2 separate regions of the Homo sapiens genome follow, and region 1 is linked to region 2. Evidence: promoter capture Hi-C in 16 types of primary human blood cells and fetal thymus (Javierre and others, 2016). All regions are on one chromosome and are shown on one strand. Each heading gives the region's core, a stretch centred on a gene start or on the middle of the fragment in contact. The rest is flanking DNA. Distances are from core to core; before and after follow the strand shown. Region 1 overlaps LOC105376914 (a long non-coding RNA gene). Region 2 holds the start of ZNF561 (zinc finger protein 561).

Region 1 (7,499 bases), core at 68-2,567, 35 kb before region 2:
CACATAGGACCCAGTCAAACACAGAAATTGTAGTTTCTTCCCGGGTGGGCGCGGACAGGCCCTTACTTGGGGGCGGTTTAGAGGTGGGACCCGGCTAGCCGGCGGTTCAGGTGGCCGGACCTGCTGGAAGGGCGGGCGTGGGGGATGGGACGCACCCCAGGGGATGCTCCTGCAGAGCTTTTCCCAGGTGGGCACAGTGGCTAAGGCCTGTAAGTCCAACACTTTGGGAGGCTAAGGCAGGTGGATAGCTTGAGTCCAAGAGTTCAAGACCAGCGTGGGCAAAATAGCAACATCCTTTATTAAAATATATATGTGTGTATACATATATATAAAGCTTGTTTGTATACATCTCATGTTCCTAGAGCCTTTCCATGATTCTTCCATATGGATAAAGCTGCCAGTGAATGGCATGGTCTATCTCTTCTATTCAGTCAGGCTTTCTGTAGGCCTTTATTTCTTCATTCTTTATTTTTTAGAACCTGCTGGTTCCATTGCGTTTTCTTTTTTCGTTTTTCTTTTTCATTTTTTATTTTTTTTTGAGACAGATCTCACTCTGTTGCCCAGGCTGGAGTGCAGTGGCATGACCTCGGCTCACTGTAACCTCTGCCCCCCGGGTTCAAGTGATTCTCCTGCCTCAACCTCCCGAGTAGCTGGGATTACAGATGTCTGCCTCCACGCCCAGCTAATTTTTGTACTTTTAGTAGAGAAGAGTTTCACCATGATGGCCAGACTGATCTCGAACTCCTGACCTCCAATGATCTGTCTCCCTCAGCTTCCCAAAGTGCTGGAATTATAGACATGAGCCACCGCACCCGGCCACGTTTTCAATATAATAATATTTTCTGTAAATCTTGATTTTTTTTTGTCTTCATCAAGTATGTATTTCTGGCTGGGTATGGTGGCTTATGCCTATAATCCCAGCAATTTGGGAGGCCAAGGGATCGTTTGAGGCCAGGAGTTTGAGACCAGCCTGGGCAATACAGCAAGACCCCGTCTCTGTTTAAAAAAAATTTTAAATATGTTTTTGTTTTTGTTTTGAGATGGAGTCTAGCTCTGTTGCCCAGGCTGGAGTGCAGTGGCACGATCTTGCTCACTGCAACCTCTGCCTCCCGGGTTCAAGCGATTCTTCTCTCTCAGCCTCCTGAGTAGCAGAGATTACAGGCAGGCGCCGCCATGCCCGGCTAATTTTTGTATTTTTAGTAAAGACAGGGTTTCACCATATTGGCCCAGTTGGTCTCGAACTCCTGACCTCATGATCCGCCTGCCTCACCTTTCCAAAGTGCTGGGATTACAGATGTGAGCCACCACGCCTGGCCAAAAACATGTATTTCTATTGTTATTTTTCTGATCTTCCCACATGGGCCAGGACCACATTTCCTACATTGTAAAATAGCACTGACACCAGACATTCTCCCCAGGTTTATTCAGAAATGTAACATAATCCCAGTAAAAATATTAAAAGTTTTTTCTGGAGTTAGGTACGTTGATACTAAAGTTTATGTGGAAGAATAAATATCTGATAATAACCAAGAAAACAAAAACAAAAGCAATGATGAGCAGCAGATGTTAAAACATACTATTAACAGTTTTCACACAAGGCAAATAATTAAATTATATTAAAATAAAAATAAATAAGACATACTATAAAGCCTCTATAATTAAAACTATGTGGTACTAGCACATGAAGCAGAAACAGACTAATAAAATATCTAAAAACAGACCCAAGAACATGTAGGAATTTGGTTCATAAATGTGGTATTTTGCCAGGCGCGGTGGCTCATACCTGTAATCCTAGCAATTTGGGAGGCTGAGGCGGGAGGATCACCTGAAGTCAGGAGTTCGAAACCAGCCTGTCCAACATGGTGAAACCCTGTCTCTAATAAAAATACAAAAATAAAATTAGCCAAGCATGGTGGTGGGCTTTCTGTAATCCCAGCTATTCGGGAGGCTGAGGCAGGAGAATCGCTGAAACCCAGAAGGCAGAGGTTGCAGTGAGCCGAGATCGCGCCACTGGACTCCAGCCTGGGCAACAAGAGTGAAAATCCATCTCAAAAAAAAAAAAAAAAGGTATTTCAGATCAATGAGGCAAAAAAAGCCATTTGTAATGGAAAGTCTAAGACAGCTGGGTAGCCATCAGAGAAAAGATGAAATTAAATCCATACTTCACAGCATATACAAGAATAAACTCTAAATGGACTAGGGATCTAAATGTGAAAAATAAAACCATATACGCATTCAGGGTGTAAGTGATTTCTTGGCTGAGTAAGGAAAAAGACGTGACCACAAGGCGGCAGTAGCACACAAGCTTCATTTGGGATGTGCTTTGACAGGTAAGGAGTGGCGGGAGGTAGCAAACAGCAAGAGAATATCCACAGGCTTCTACCTGTGGGTCGCTGCTCAGAAAGGGTGGAAAGGAAGAAAGACTCCCAGAGGAGAAGGGGAATCAAAGAGGGGGCTTATATGACTAAGTGACGATGCTCAGCAGCCTGGCAGCATATCTTCCAGTTAAAAAGTTCTGAAGGACAAGTCTGGCCAACATGGTGAAACTCCGCCTCTACTAAAAATACAAAAATTAGCCGGGCATGGTGGCGGGCGCCTGTAATCCCAGCTACTCGGGAGGATGAGGCAGGAGAATTGCTTATACCCGGGAAGCGGCGGTTGTATTGAGCCAAGATCGCGCCATTGCACTCCAGCCTGGGCGATAGAGTGAGACTCAGTCTCAAAAAAATAAAAATAAAATATGTAATTATCTGTTCATTCTGAGTACAGGGAAACACTGATAGGACTATCCTGAAAATAATAAGATTCAGAATCTATCGGGGATAGATGGGAAGGGCTTGAACAGAATGGTGGGATAAGAACAAAATGGAGAGGATAGGGATAGGGAAACCTCTCTGAGCATATCATTCTGTTTAGTTCTGATGTTTAAAATCACATTCTACTTTTTTTTTTTCTTTTTGACAGGGTTTCACTCTGTCACACAGGCTGGAGTGTAGTAGCGTTATCATTGCTCAGTGCAGCCTTTACTTTGTGAGCTCAAGTAATCCTCCTGCCCAAGTACCAGGGAATACATATGTACACCACCACATCCAGCTAATTTTTAAAAATATTTTGGGTAGAGAAGAGATCTCTCTATGTTGCCCAGGCTGCTCTTGAACTTCCAGTCTGTCACATATAAAGTTTTGGTGCCACAAAAGAAATAACACTTGAATATAAAATTTTCTTTTTAATTCTCAGCAAGGCAAGATACTTCTATAGAAGGGTGCACTCTCACAGATGGAGCAATGGTGGGCACACACCTGGACAAGGGAGGGAAAGGGGTTCTTATTCCTGACACACGTGGTCCCTACTGCTCTGTCGTTCCCCTACTGGCTAGGGTTGGACCTCACAGGCTAAACTAATTCCGATTGACTAATTTAAAGAGAGTGATGGAGTGAGCGGTTTGGGAAAAGGGTGCTTTATGAGGAAGTTAAGTTTAAAAGTAGAAGGCAAAGAATTGAGCATACTGACATATTAATTCTTTGAAGAGAAATTTATAATTCATTTTCAACAACTTCCTCCTCTTGCATTTTTTTTATGGCTTTCTCTTCAAACTTATTTAACATGTCTTGACTTAGTTGTTCTGCTTGATTTTCCAAAAGAAGGAGCTTCTCTGGATAAGGTGGAGGATAGTTAAAGGAGGTTTTAGTAAGTGCCATTTCTATGAGCCTCTGCACCAACCTACAGATGCATGGTATGACACGGCACCTGACAAGGATAAGTACACCCATTACGGCTACAAGGGAGGTGAGAATTGAGGCTATTATTCCTTTCCATTTACCGAACCACTTTTCTAGCCATTCTGTAAATGGGTAATTTACCCCTGAATTGCTGGCCAACTCATTGGATAGAGGAGTCAGGCCTTGCAATGCCTTTCTTATACTTCCATTAGGGGCCGTGTTGTTTGGGATGAAGTTGCAACAATGAGTTTTAATAATGATGCAAACTCCTCCTCTTTCTGCTAATACCATGTCTAAAGCTATCCTATTTTCCCAAGCCATCAGGTTAGTAGCCCCCAATTGCTCAGCTATTCCTTTAACAGCATCTCTAGTGTAGTTAATAAATCGCTGTTGGTTGTAATAGATGTAGTTTACCCAATCTACATTTTTTTTTTTTTGAGATGGAGTCTCACTCTGTCACCCAGGCTGGAATGCAGTGGTGCGATCTTGGCTCACTGCAAGCTCCGCCTCCTGGGTTCATGCCATTCTCCTACCTCAGCCTCCTGAGTAGTTGGGACTACAGGCACCTGCCACCATGCCCGGTGAATTTTTTGTATTTTTAGTAGAGACAGGGTTTCACCGCGTTACCCAGGATGGTCTCAATCTCCTGACCTTGTGATCCGCCCGCCTCGGCCTCCCAAAGTGCTGGGATTACAGGCATGAGCCATCGCGCCCGGCCCACCCAATCTACATTTTTATTAACTGTCGCCTACCAAAATATTGACTTAAATCCTGCAGCTATTGGATTTTGGGCTTTAAATTGATCTGGTATTCCCCGTGGGACTCCAATTGCATCTAAATAGCCGTGAGAGTTGAAAGACCTATAACGGGCTTGTCTTGCTTTACGAAGTCTTATCTTTCCTCCCTCTGGTTGCTGAAATGCCAGGGTGAAAGGGATAGCCAATTGGACTAAAGCACAAGTGCCACTCCAGTTATTCAGCAGAGTGTCCAGTAAAGGTCCACCACAATACCACCACACATCCGCTCAGGGATGAGCAAGGGCTGACTGATTGGTAAGCTCTTGAAAGTTCTTAAGCTCACTGCATCCCTTCAGGTCTCCAAGGAACACTAAGTTTCCTCTCTGTTGTGAGAGACACGAAGTGAACTTAATGTTGGGAGATGGAAGCTGGATGGCCCTCGGGGGCTGACCAGCATGTTGTTGAACTTCAGGATATAGCAGAGACAGAGAGTCGGCATGACTCTTTACCCTAGGCTGTAGAATCCTGGAAAAGAGTTACCATGCAGCCCATGCCCGGTCTATTGGAGAACCACCCTAGTGGAAAGGGGACAATCTGGGCCTCTGGCCTGCTGTGCGCACTAGCATAACAATTGCTTTTGTTTAACATGCGGATGGAATATTTGATCCATTCCAACCAGGTATTTACATCTTGGTATCCTGTCTCAATTGCCAAAGTTTAAGTCTTTAACTTCTACCATCGCTATCATGGCCTTGTCCTTAGATGGAGGAGGAACAATGGTTCCGTTGTGAGAGGTTTTGGAAAAAGGCTAAGAGGCAGGTGCAGGCAGCGGGAGATCAAAGAAACGCATTTCAAAGAATCCAGTAGGGTCTGTCCTTGAAACCTCAGCCCCTATACCATAAAACCGGCTTAAAGAAAGGAACTGGCTTAGAAAAGGAGAACTTTGGGGCTCAAAATACTAACCTGTATAGGGTTGCACTGGTTTGGCTGACAGTTGGGGGGGGCTGTCCCTTTAGTAAATGAATGTATGGTTTTAGGAAATTCCAAAAACTGGTTAGGGCAGTCCATCCTTGCTCTTTGGTGGTCCACAGAACGTTGGACCAACTACGGCATAAAAGCTCTACATCGGGGGTTGGGGTCAAGACTCCTGGTTTCCACTGGGATCTTTATGGAAATCTCCCAGATTAAATGGTCCTAATTCACTAATGCCCAGTCTGAGGAGAGCCAGGAGGGACAGAGGTGCTTTTCTGAAGTAGTGAGCTGCCTTTGACTTGACAAATCCCCACAGGGTATAACAAGGCAAGCATTAAATGCAACAGTTTGAGGCAAAATTGACTTGGTTATGTTAATAACTAGATGGTCAGCAACAGAGCGAGGAAAGAAGAAAGAGTAATAGAATAGATGAAAGACAGTTAAATTCTTCTTAGCTTTAGTTTGGTAGGGTTTTCCCCTGGGACTATGGCCCACCACTCTGGAGGTGGTGGCGCGTTCTTGACTCTGGTGTGATGAGTCCATCCTCTCTCTGCCGTGCGGACTGCGGTTTCAGTAGTGAGGAGCAGTAAGTAATGAGATTCCCAGGCTGGCTCAGGCTTCTCCTCTTTCCAGCTCTTGATGAGGACATGATCCCCAGGCTGATGATGCACTGGGAACTCTAAGGGTGGCACCTGTGCTAATAGACCTTTAGTTTTAAGAGAAGAGAGAATAGAAGATAGACAAAGTATATAATTTTTAAGGATTGATCTTTTGTTTCAAAGGTAGGAATATCAGCAGTGGAGTGCAAATAAGGTAATCCATAGAGCATCTCATAAGGAGAAAGACCAACGTCTTTCCGTGGTGCAGTTTGAATTCTCAGCAGGGCGATAGGAAGACACTTGGTCCATGGCAATCGAGTCTCTAAGACTAATTTGGTTAAGTGGTTCTTTAGAGTCTGATTCATTCTTTCTACTCTCCCTGATGAGGGTGGGTGCCAGGGAGTATGGTGTTCCTATTTAATGTCTAATGTTTGGGATAGCTTTTTAATAATGTGTGTGGTGAAATGAGTTCCATTGTCTGAGTCAATATTTTCTATTAGTCCAAACCTGGGTACTATATTTTCAATTAAGGCCTTAACTACATTATTGGCTGTTGCATTTGAAAAGGGGACAGCTTCAACCAAGTGAGTGAGGTAGTCTACTATCACTAGTAAATATTTTAGACGACCTATTGGAGGCATTTCTGTGTAATCAACTTGGATACTTTGGAATGGCCTTAAGCCCAGATTCCTTCCCCCGAGAGGTAATCTTTTTATAGTATGTCTATTAGTTTTCTTACATACTAAGCAACTATCTGTAACCTGTTTGGCCAGAGTATAAATTCCTATATAACTATAAACTCTGAGAACTGCATCACACATGGCCTGGGGCCCCCAGTGGGTCTCATGATGTAGTTAGGATAAGACTTCCCTCATAAGGGGTTTGGACAACATTTCTCTCTGGTCTGACAGCATCCACTTTCCTTCTGAATTCTCTTTAGCGTCTATGTTTATTAGTTTCTCTTTTTTGGTGGAAGAGAAAATGGGGATTATGGTAGGAGGAGGGAGGTAGGGAGTTAAGTGAAAAATATGCATTTCAGAAGACACAGCAGCCTGCTTGGCTACCTGATCTGCTAGGTTATTTCCTCGACTTTCAAAAGAGGTTTTTCTGTTGTCCGGGAACATGGACAATAGTTATTTTTTCCGGCAACTGAAGATTATTCAATACTTGGGTGATCAGCTCCTTGTGAACAAGGTCTTGACCTTTACTATTAATGAGAACTCGTTCAGTCCAAATTTTTCCAAATGTATGAGCCACTTCAAAGGTGTACTTAGAATCGGTATAGATAGTTCCCTCCTGGTCCTGTAAGTACTTTAAGGCTTGGCTGAGTGCAAACAGCTCACACATTTGAGCAGACCAACTGTTGGGCAATTTTTCTGACTCTATTTCTATGAGAGTTTCTCCATCAATCACTGAATACCCATTGTGTCTTTTTCCCTCAATCACCCAGGAGGAACCATCTATGAATAAGT
Region 2 (7,287 bases), core at 1,544-4,043:
ACTCTCGTCCAGGTGCGGTGCCTCATGCCTGTAATCCCAGCACTTTGGGAGGCCGAGGCGGGTGGATCATGAGGTCAGGAGAACGAGACCATCCTAGCTAACACGGTGAAACCCCATCTCTACTAAAAATACAAAAAATTAGCCAGATGTGGTGGTGGGCATCTATAGTCCCAGCTACTCAGGAGGCTGAGGCAGGAGAATGGTGTGAACCCAGGAGGCGGAGCTTGCAGTGAGCCGAGATCGTGCCACTGCACTCTAGCCTGGGTGACAGAGCAAGACTCCGTCTCAAAAAAAAAAAAAGTGACTCTCTATCTGCCCATAGTAGTAACACTCATGAAGCTTATGTAGCATTTCCTAAGGTACACAAACCAGGGCTGAATTCTAAAACAGCATTCTGGCTGGGCACAGTGGCTCATGCCTGTAATCCCAATACTTTGGGAGGCCAAGGCGGGCAAATCACTTGAGGTCAGGAATTTGAGACCAGCCTGGCCAACATTATGAAACCCCATCTCTACTAAAAATAGAAAAATTATGGGAGGCTGAGGCAGAGAATTACTTGAACCCAGGAGACAGAAGTTGCAGTGAGTCGAGACCACAGGCACTGCACTCCAGCCTGGGAGACAGAGTGAGATTCTGTCTCAAAAACAAAAACAAACAAACAAACAAAAATTAGCCAGGTCTGGCAGTATGTGCTTGTGGTCCCAGATACTTGGGAGGCTGAGGCAAGAGAATCACTTGAACCTGGGAGGTGAAGGTTGCAGTGAGCTAAGATTGCACCACTGCACTCCAGCCTGGGTGACGGAACAAGATTCTGTCTCAAAAATAAATAAATAAATAAATAAATAATAAAACAGCATTCTGTTCTGTGGTTCACTTCAATTCCTCCTAAAAGAACCAGCTGCATGCCTGCTCAGGCTCAGCTCACTGGACGCTTGTGTTGTGGAGGGTGACCTAAAGCAGAATCTCTGAAAAAGAGCATCAACAAAGACTTACCACGGGACAAATAAATGGCTGCCATTCTCTGAAGCTGATGGTGTGATGATGTGCATCCCTTCCTTGATGCCAAGATCACCTCAGGCCAGCTTATGAATCTAGGTGGATAGAGGCAATCTCCATTCCTCTTTGTACAGGGTTATTTGCGGTCCTGTTCATATCAATCATCAAACAACAAGCATGAAACATCAGTCATCAAACATTATGCCTGAGCTTTGTCTCTGCAGGTGACAGATGTGAAGGCCACCAAAAATTGCCCACTCAGTACCGTCACTCAGTAACAAAAGTATTAATAACAGTAACTGACATTTACTGAGGACTGATATGTCAGAAGTAGCTCTAGTAGCTTTATATATACATGCTCAGTTAATTATCATAGCCATCCTTCCCAGTAGCTATCATTACCTCTATCTATCTATATCTATCTATATTTATCTATCTATATCTATCTATCTATATATCTATCTATATCTATCTATCTATATCTATCCTATCTATCTATCTATCTATCTATCGAGACAGGGTCTCACTCTGTTGCCCAGGTTGAAATCCAATGGCACTAACACAACTCTCTGTAGCCTAGACTTCCCGGGCTCAAGTGATCCTCCCACTTCAGCCTCCTGAATAGCTGGGACCATAGGTGCGTATCATCACTCATTATTATTATTATTATTTTGAGACAGAGTCTCACTCTGTTGCCCAGGCTGGAATGCAGTGGCATGATCTCAACTCATTGCAACCTCTGCCTCCCAGGTGCAAGCGATTATCAGGCCTCAGCCTCCCGAGTAGCTGGGATTTCAGGTATGCACTACCATGCCTGGCTAATTTTTGCATTTTTAGTAGAGACGCAGTTTCGCCATATTGGCCAGGCTGGTCTTGAACTCCTGGCCTTAAGTGATTCTCCCACTTCAGCCCCCCAACTAGCTGGGACTACAGGTGCACACCACTGGGTCCGGCTAATTTTTTGTAGTTTTAGTAGAGACAAGTTTTCACCAGATTGCCTAGGCTAGTCTCAAACTCCTGGGCTCAAACAATCCTCCTGACTTGGCCTCCCAAAGTGCTGGGATAATAAGCATAAGCCACGATGCCTGGCCCATTACTTCTATTTAATACTGAAAAAAACCTACACTCAAACAACCCTAGTAGTCGGTCTGATACTTGTCCCTAGAGCCTGATCTCCTGTATATGGTGTTACCCCCCCGCCATATGACCAGAAGACAGTGCAGACCTGCACAGAACAATTCAGTAGTCACCAGCCACGTGTGTTATTGATAACTTCATTACGTACCTAAGATGACTTAAGAACAAAATCTAAAATTTTCAAAAGTCGGCCGGGTGCAGTGGCTCACACCTATAATCCCAGCACTTTGGGGGACCGAGGCAGACAGATCACCTAAGGTCAGGAGTTCAAGACCAGCCTGGCCAACATGGCAAAACCATCTCTACTAAAGATAGAAAAAGTAGCCGGGCGTGGTGGCACTTGCCTGTAATCCCAGGTACTCGGAAGGCTGAGGCAGGAGAACTGCTTGACCCTGGAGGCAGAGGTTGCAGAGGTTGCAGTGAGCCGAGAGAGCGCGCAGCCTCTCCGAACTGGACGCACAGGGAGGACTGATAGTCCCTGGAGAAGCGAGTGAAGTGAAGCGGATCTGAGAGGCTCCTAGGCGACAGCGCGCAATCATTCCTTTGCCGCCCCCTGCTATCCCCGGGACCGCCAAGGAGGTGGAACTCACCACAGCCTGGGCAGACTCCACCACCATAAAGGCGAAACCGCACTGACGGAGAGGAGCCAGCGCCGGAAAAGATGGCGGTGGTGCGCTGACGTCACTTCCGCTTCAACACTCTGGCCGGGCGAGGCTCGTGGGCTCCAGTTTCAGCCACGTAGGACCGGGTAGAACACAGAAATTCTAGTTTCCTCTCGGGTGGGTGCAGAAAGGGCCTGGGGTTGGCTCAGGGAGGGGGATGCAGAACTAGGTCCAGAGAAAAAGGTGAGGTTAGAACCGGGCCTCCAGACGGAACTGTGGGCGAGGGGAGGGGCTCGTACTCGGGGGGTGATTTAGAGGAGGGACCCGGCCTAGCCGGTGGTTCAGGTGGCCGGTCGGGCTGGAAGGGCGGGGATGAGGGATGGGACGCATCCCCGGGGGATGCTCCTCCAAAGCTTTTATCGGGCGAGCGCAGTGGCTCACGCCTGTAATTCCTGCACTTTGGGAGGCTAAGGTAGGTAAATAGCTTGAGTCTGCTGGGAATGGGTGCTCGCTTGGTGTCACAAAATCAACACTGAGACAAAGGATCTCAGCAAGGCTAGTTTTACTTTCTGCAGAATGGGTGCCACTGGCTGGCAGTCTTGCCACCAGAGCACACATTAACAAAGGAGACAGGGTTTTTTTAAACTTGAAGTGTCCATCCTTCTGCTGTGTCCAGCTTCCATTGGCTGGAACGGGACCTCACCTTCCTGTACTTCACTGGATTGGCTAGCAACTTAGAACTTCCCAAAAGAGGCAATGGCAGAGGAGAACAAAGGAAGAGAGGAAGTAACTTGTGGACTGTTGAGAGAGGCAAAAACACTTCTAAATAGGGAAAGGAATAGGCCATGACCTAATAGTTGCTTGGACCAGTTCAGGCATGCCAGGGCAAATATCTAGGCTAAAATGTGGGAGCTAAAAACAGAGTCTATTGATTTCTTTATTACGGCTGGCAGAATTTAACAATATTACCACAGGTCTTTGAGAAAATTTGGCTTCTAAGAGGGATTACTATTTATTTCAATCAGACTGGGAGGAAAGTCCCTTTGAAGAGGAACCTGTATTTATTTCATTTTCTACAAGTCCAAGAGTTTGAGACCAGCCTGGGCAAAGTAGCAAGACCCTGTCTCTCTCTCTCTCTCTCTCTCTATATATATATATATAAACATATATGTATAAATACATATAAATATATAAATATATAAAAAATATATAAATATACATGTTCAAAATGCTTGTTCCCTGGTGCCATAAAGAAATTAGCACTTGAACATAAATTTAATTTACTCAGCAAGGCCATTTTTACTTCCTGCAGAAACGGTATACTCACCAGCAGTTTTGCCACGAGAGTACACCAAACAAAGGAGATAGGGTCATTTATAACCTGATGCTTCCAACCTACTGCTGTGTCCAGTTTCCACTGGCTGGAATGGGACCTCACGTTCTGGCTAGCAACTTATAACTTTTTAAAAGAGGCAAGGGTAGAGGAGAACAAAGGAAGGAGGAAGTAACTTGTGGAATGCTGAGAAGGGTCAAAACATCTTCAAATAAGGAAAAAGAACAGGCTATGCCCTAATGCTTGCCTGGACCAGTACAAGCATGCCAGGGCAAATATGTAGACTAAACTGTGGGAGCTAAGAATATAAAGTACATTGATTTCTTTATCACGGCTCACAGATACTTGAGAATGTTAGCACAGGTCTTTGAATAAATTTTGCTTCTAAGAGAAGTTACTATTTATTCCTAATTAAATGTGAAGGAACGTCTTTGAAGAGGAACCTCTGCTTTACTTTTTAGATATAAATATAAAGCTTGTTTGTATGCCTCTCCTCATGTTCCTAGAGCCTTTCCATGATTCTTCCATATTGATAAAGCTGCCAATGAATGGCATGGTCTATCCCTTCCATTCAGTCAGAGTTTCTGTAGGCCTTTTTTTCTTCATTCTTTATTTTTTAGAACCTGCTGATTCCATTGGGTTTTCTTTTTCTTTCTTGCTTGCTTGCTTGCTTGCGACAGATCTCACTGGATCAGACCAGGCTGGAGTGCAGTGGTGTGATCTCAGCTCACCGCAACCTCCACCTCCCAGGTTCAAGCAATTCTCCTGCCTCAGCCTCTGGAGTAGCTGGGATTACAGGCGCCTGCCACCACGCCCAGCTAATTTTTGTATTTTTAGTAGAGAACGATTTCACCAGGTTGGCCAGGCTGATCTCGAACTCCTGGCCTAAAATATCTGCCAGGCCAAGATGGTAGGATCGTTTAAGGCCAGGAGTTTAAGACAAGCCTGGGCTACACAGCAAAACCCCATCTCTCTATATATATATAAAAAAAATTTAAATTAAAAAATGTTTTGTTTTGTTTTGTTTTTTTGAGACATAGTTTCGCTCTGCCACCCAGACTGGAGTGCAGTGGTGCGATCTTCACTCACTGCAAACTCTGCCTCCTGGGTTCAAGCCATTCTTCTGCCTCAGCCTCCTGAGTAGTTGGGACTACAGGCATGTGCCACTGCGCCCAACTAATTTTTGCATTTTTAATACAGACATGGTTTCATCATATTGACCCAGCTGGTCTCAAAGTCCTGACCTCGTGATCCATCCACCTGGTCCTCCCAAAGAGCTGGGATTACAGGCATGAGCCACTGCCCCAGCCAAAAATATGTATTTCTGTTGTTATTTTTCTGATCTTACCACATGGGCCAGGAACACATTTCCTACGTTGTAAAATAGCACTGATACCAGACATTCTCCCCAAGATTATTCAGAAATGTAACATACTCCCAATAAAAATACCAAAAGTTTTTTTCTGGAGTTAAGTACATTGATACTGAAGTTTATGTGGAGGAACAAACATCTGATAATAACCAAGAAAACAAAAACAAAAGCAATGATGAGCAGCAGATATTAAAACATACTATTGACAGTTTTCATGCAAGGCAAAGAATTACATTATTTTAAAATAAAAATAAAGTCCGGGCACAGTGGCTCACGCCTGTAATCCCAGCAATTTGGGAGGCCGAGGCAGGCAAATTACCTGAAGTCGGGGGTTTGATACCAGCCTGGCTAACATGGTGAAACCCTGTCTCTACTAGAAGTACAAAAATTAGCAAGCGTGGTGGCACATGCTTGTAATCCCAGCTACTTGGGAGGCTGAGGCAGGAGAGTTGCTTGAGCCTGGGAGATGAAGGTTGCAGTGAGCCGAGATTGTGCCACTGAATTGCAGCCTGGCTGACAGAGTGAGACTCTGTCTAAAAAATTAATTAATTAATTAATTTAAAAAACATACTATAAAGCCTCTATAATTAAAACTATGTGGTACTAGCACGTGAAACAGAAACTAATAAAATATCAAAAAATAGACCCATGAACATGTAGAAATTTGGTTCATAAATGTATTTTGCCAGATGCGGTGGCTCATGCCTGTATCCTAGCAATTTGGGAGACTGAGGCAGGAGGATCACTTGAGGTCAGGAGTTCAAAACCAGCCTGCCCAACATGGTGAAACCCCATCTCTATTAAAAATACAAAAACATAGCCGGGTTCGGTGGCTCATGCCTGTAATCCCAGAACTTTGGGAAGCCGAGGCAGCCGGATCATGAGGTCAGGAGTTCGAGACTAGTCTGACCAACATGGTGAAATCCCATCTCTACTAAAAATACAAAAATTAGCTGGGTGTGGTGATGCATGCCTGTAATCTCAGCTACTCAGGAGGCTGAGGCAGGAGAATTGCTTGAACCCAGAAGGCGGAGGTTGCAGTAAGCTGAGATCGCACCACTGCACTCCAGCCTGGGCAACAGAGTGAGACTCTGTCTCAAAAAAGAAAAAAAATTTAGCCAAGCATGGCCGAGCATGCTGGCTCATGCCTGTAATCCCAGCACTTTGGGAGGCTGAGGCAGGCAGATCACGACGTCACGAGATCGAGACCATCCTGGCCAACTTGGTGAAACCCCGTCTCTACTAAAAATAGAAAAATTAGCTGGCATGGTGGCGGGTGCCTGTAATCCCAGCTACTCAGGAGGCCGAAGTAGGAGAATCGCTTGAACCCAGGAGGCGGAGGTTGCAGTGAGCCAAGATCGCTCCCCTGCACTCCAGCCTGGCGATAGAGCGAGACTCCGTCTAAAAAAAAAAAAAAAAAAATTAGCCAAGCGTTGTGGTGGGCGCCTGTAAGCCCAGCTACTCGGGTGGCTGAGGCAAGAGAATTGCTCAAACCTGGGAGGCAGAGGTTGCAGTGAGCCGAGATCACGCCATTTCACTCCAGCCTGGCGACACAGCGAGACTCTGTCTCAAAAAAAAAAAAAAAAAAAAAAAAAAAAGCCGGGTGCATTGGCTGATGCCTATAATTCCAGCACTTTTGGAGGCAGAGGCGGGTGGATCACCTGAGGTCACGAGTTAGAGACCATCCTGACCAACATGAAGAAACCCCGTCTCTGCTAAAAATACAAAATTAGCTGGGCATGGTGGCACATGCTTATAATCCCAGGTACTCAGGAAGCTGAGGCAGGAGAACCGCTTGAACCCAGGAGGCGGAGGTTGGGGTGAGTGGAGATCGTGCCATTGCATTC

Evidence for each region. Contacts are between HindIII fragments. The CHiCAGO score rates a contact against its expected background, and 5 or more counts as called.
Region 1: a fragment that was not itself captured here is called in contact with the fragment with the promoter of ZNF561 in region 2 in 1 of 17 cell types (fetal thymus); the score reaches 5.5 in fetal thymus.

Annotation. Positions count from the first base shown.
Region 1 is chr19:9,584,606-9,592,104 of GRCh38, forward strand. It overlaps LOC105376914 (a long non-coding RNA gene), which reads right to left. Exons shown (of 2, transcript XR_936311.3): 2 at 5,864-6,134. Among named protein-coding and RNA genes, the nearest start is that of ZNF121, 3.9 kb to the left of the region's middle. RefSeq lists enhancers at 1-289, 4,830-5,476. The HindIII fragment of the contact is 1,971 bases long and covers 333-2,303 here.
Region 2 is chr19:9,618,439-9,625,725 of GRCh38, forward strand. ZNF561 (zinc finger protein 561) reads right to left here and starts at 2,794. Exons shown (of 6, transcript NM_152289.3): 1 at 2,724-2,794; 2 at 994-1,144. The coding sequence starts at 1,018. It overlaps ZNF561-AS1 (ZNF561 antisense RNA 1), which reads left to right and starts at 3,044. Exons shown (of 4, transcript NR_122038.1): 1 at 3,044-3,207. RefSeq lists enhancers at 1,973-2,555, 2,704-3,123. The HindIII fragment of the contact is 2,809 bases long and covers 338-3,146 here.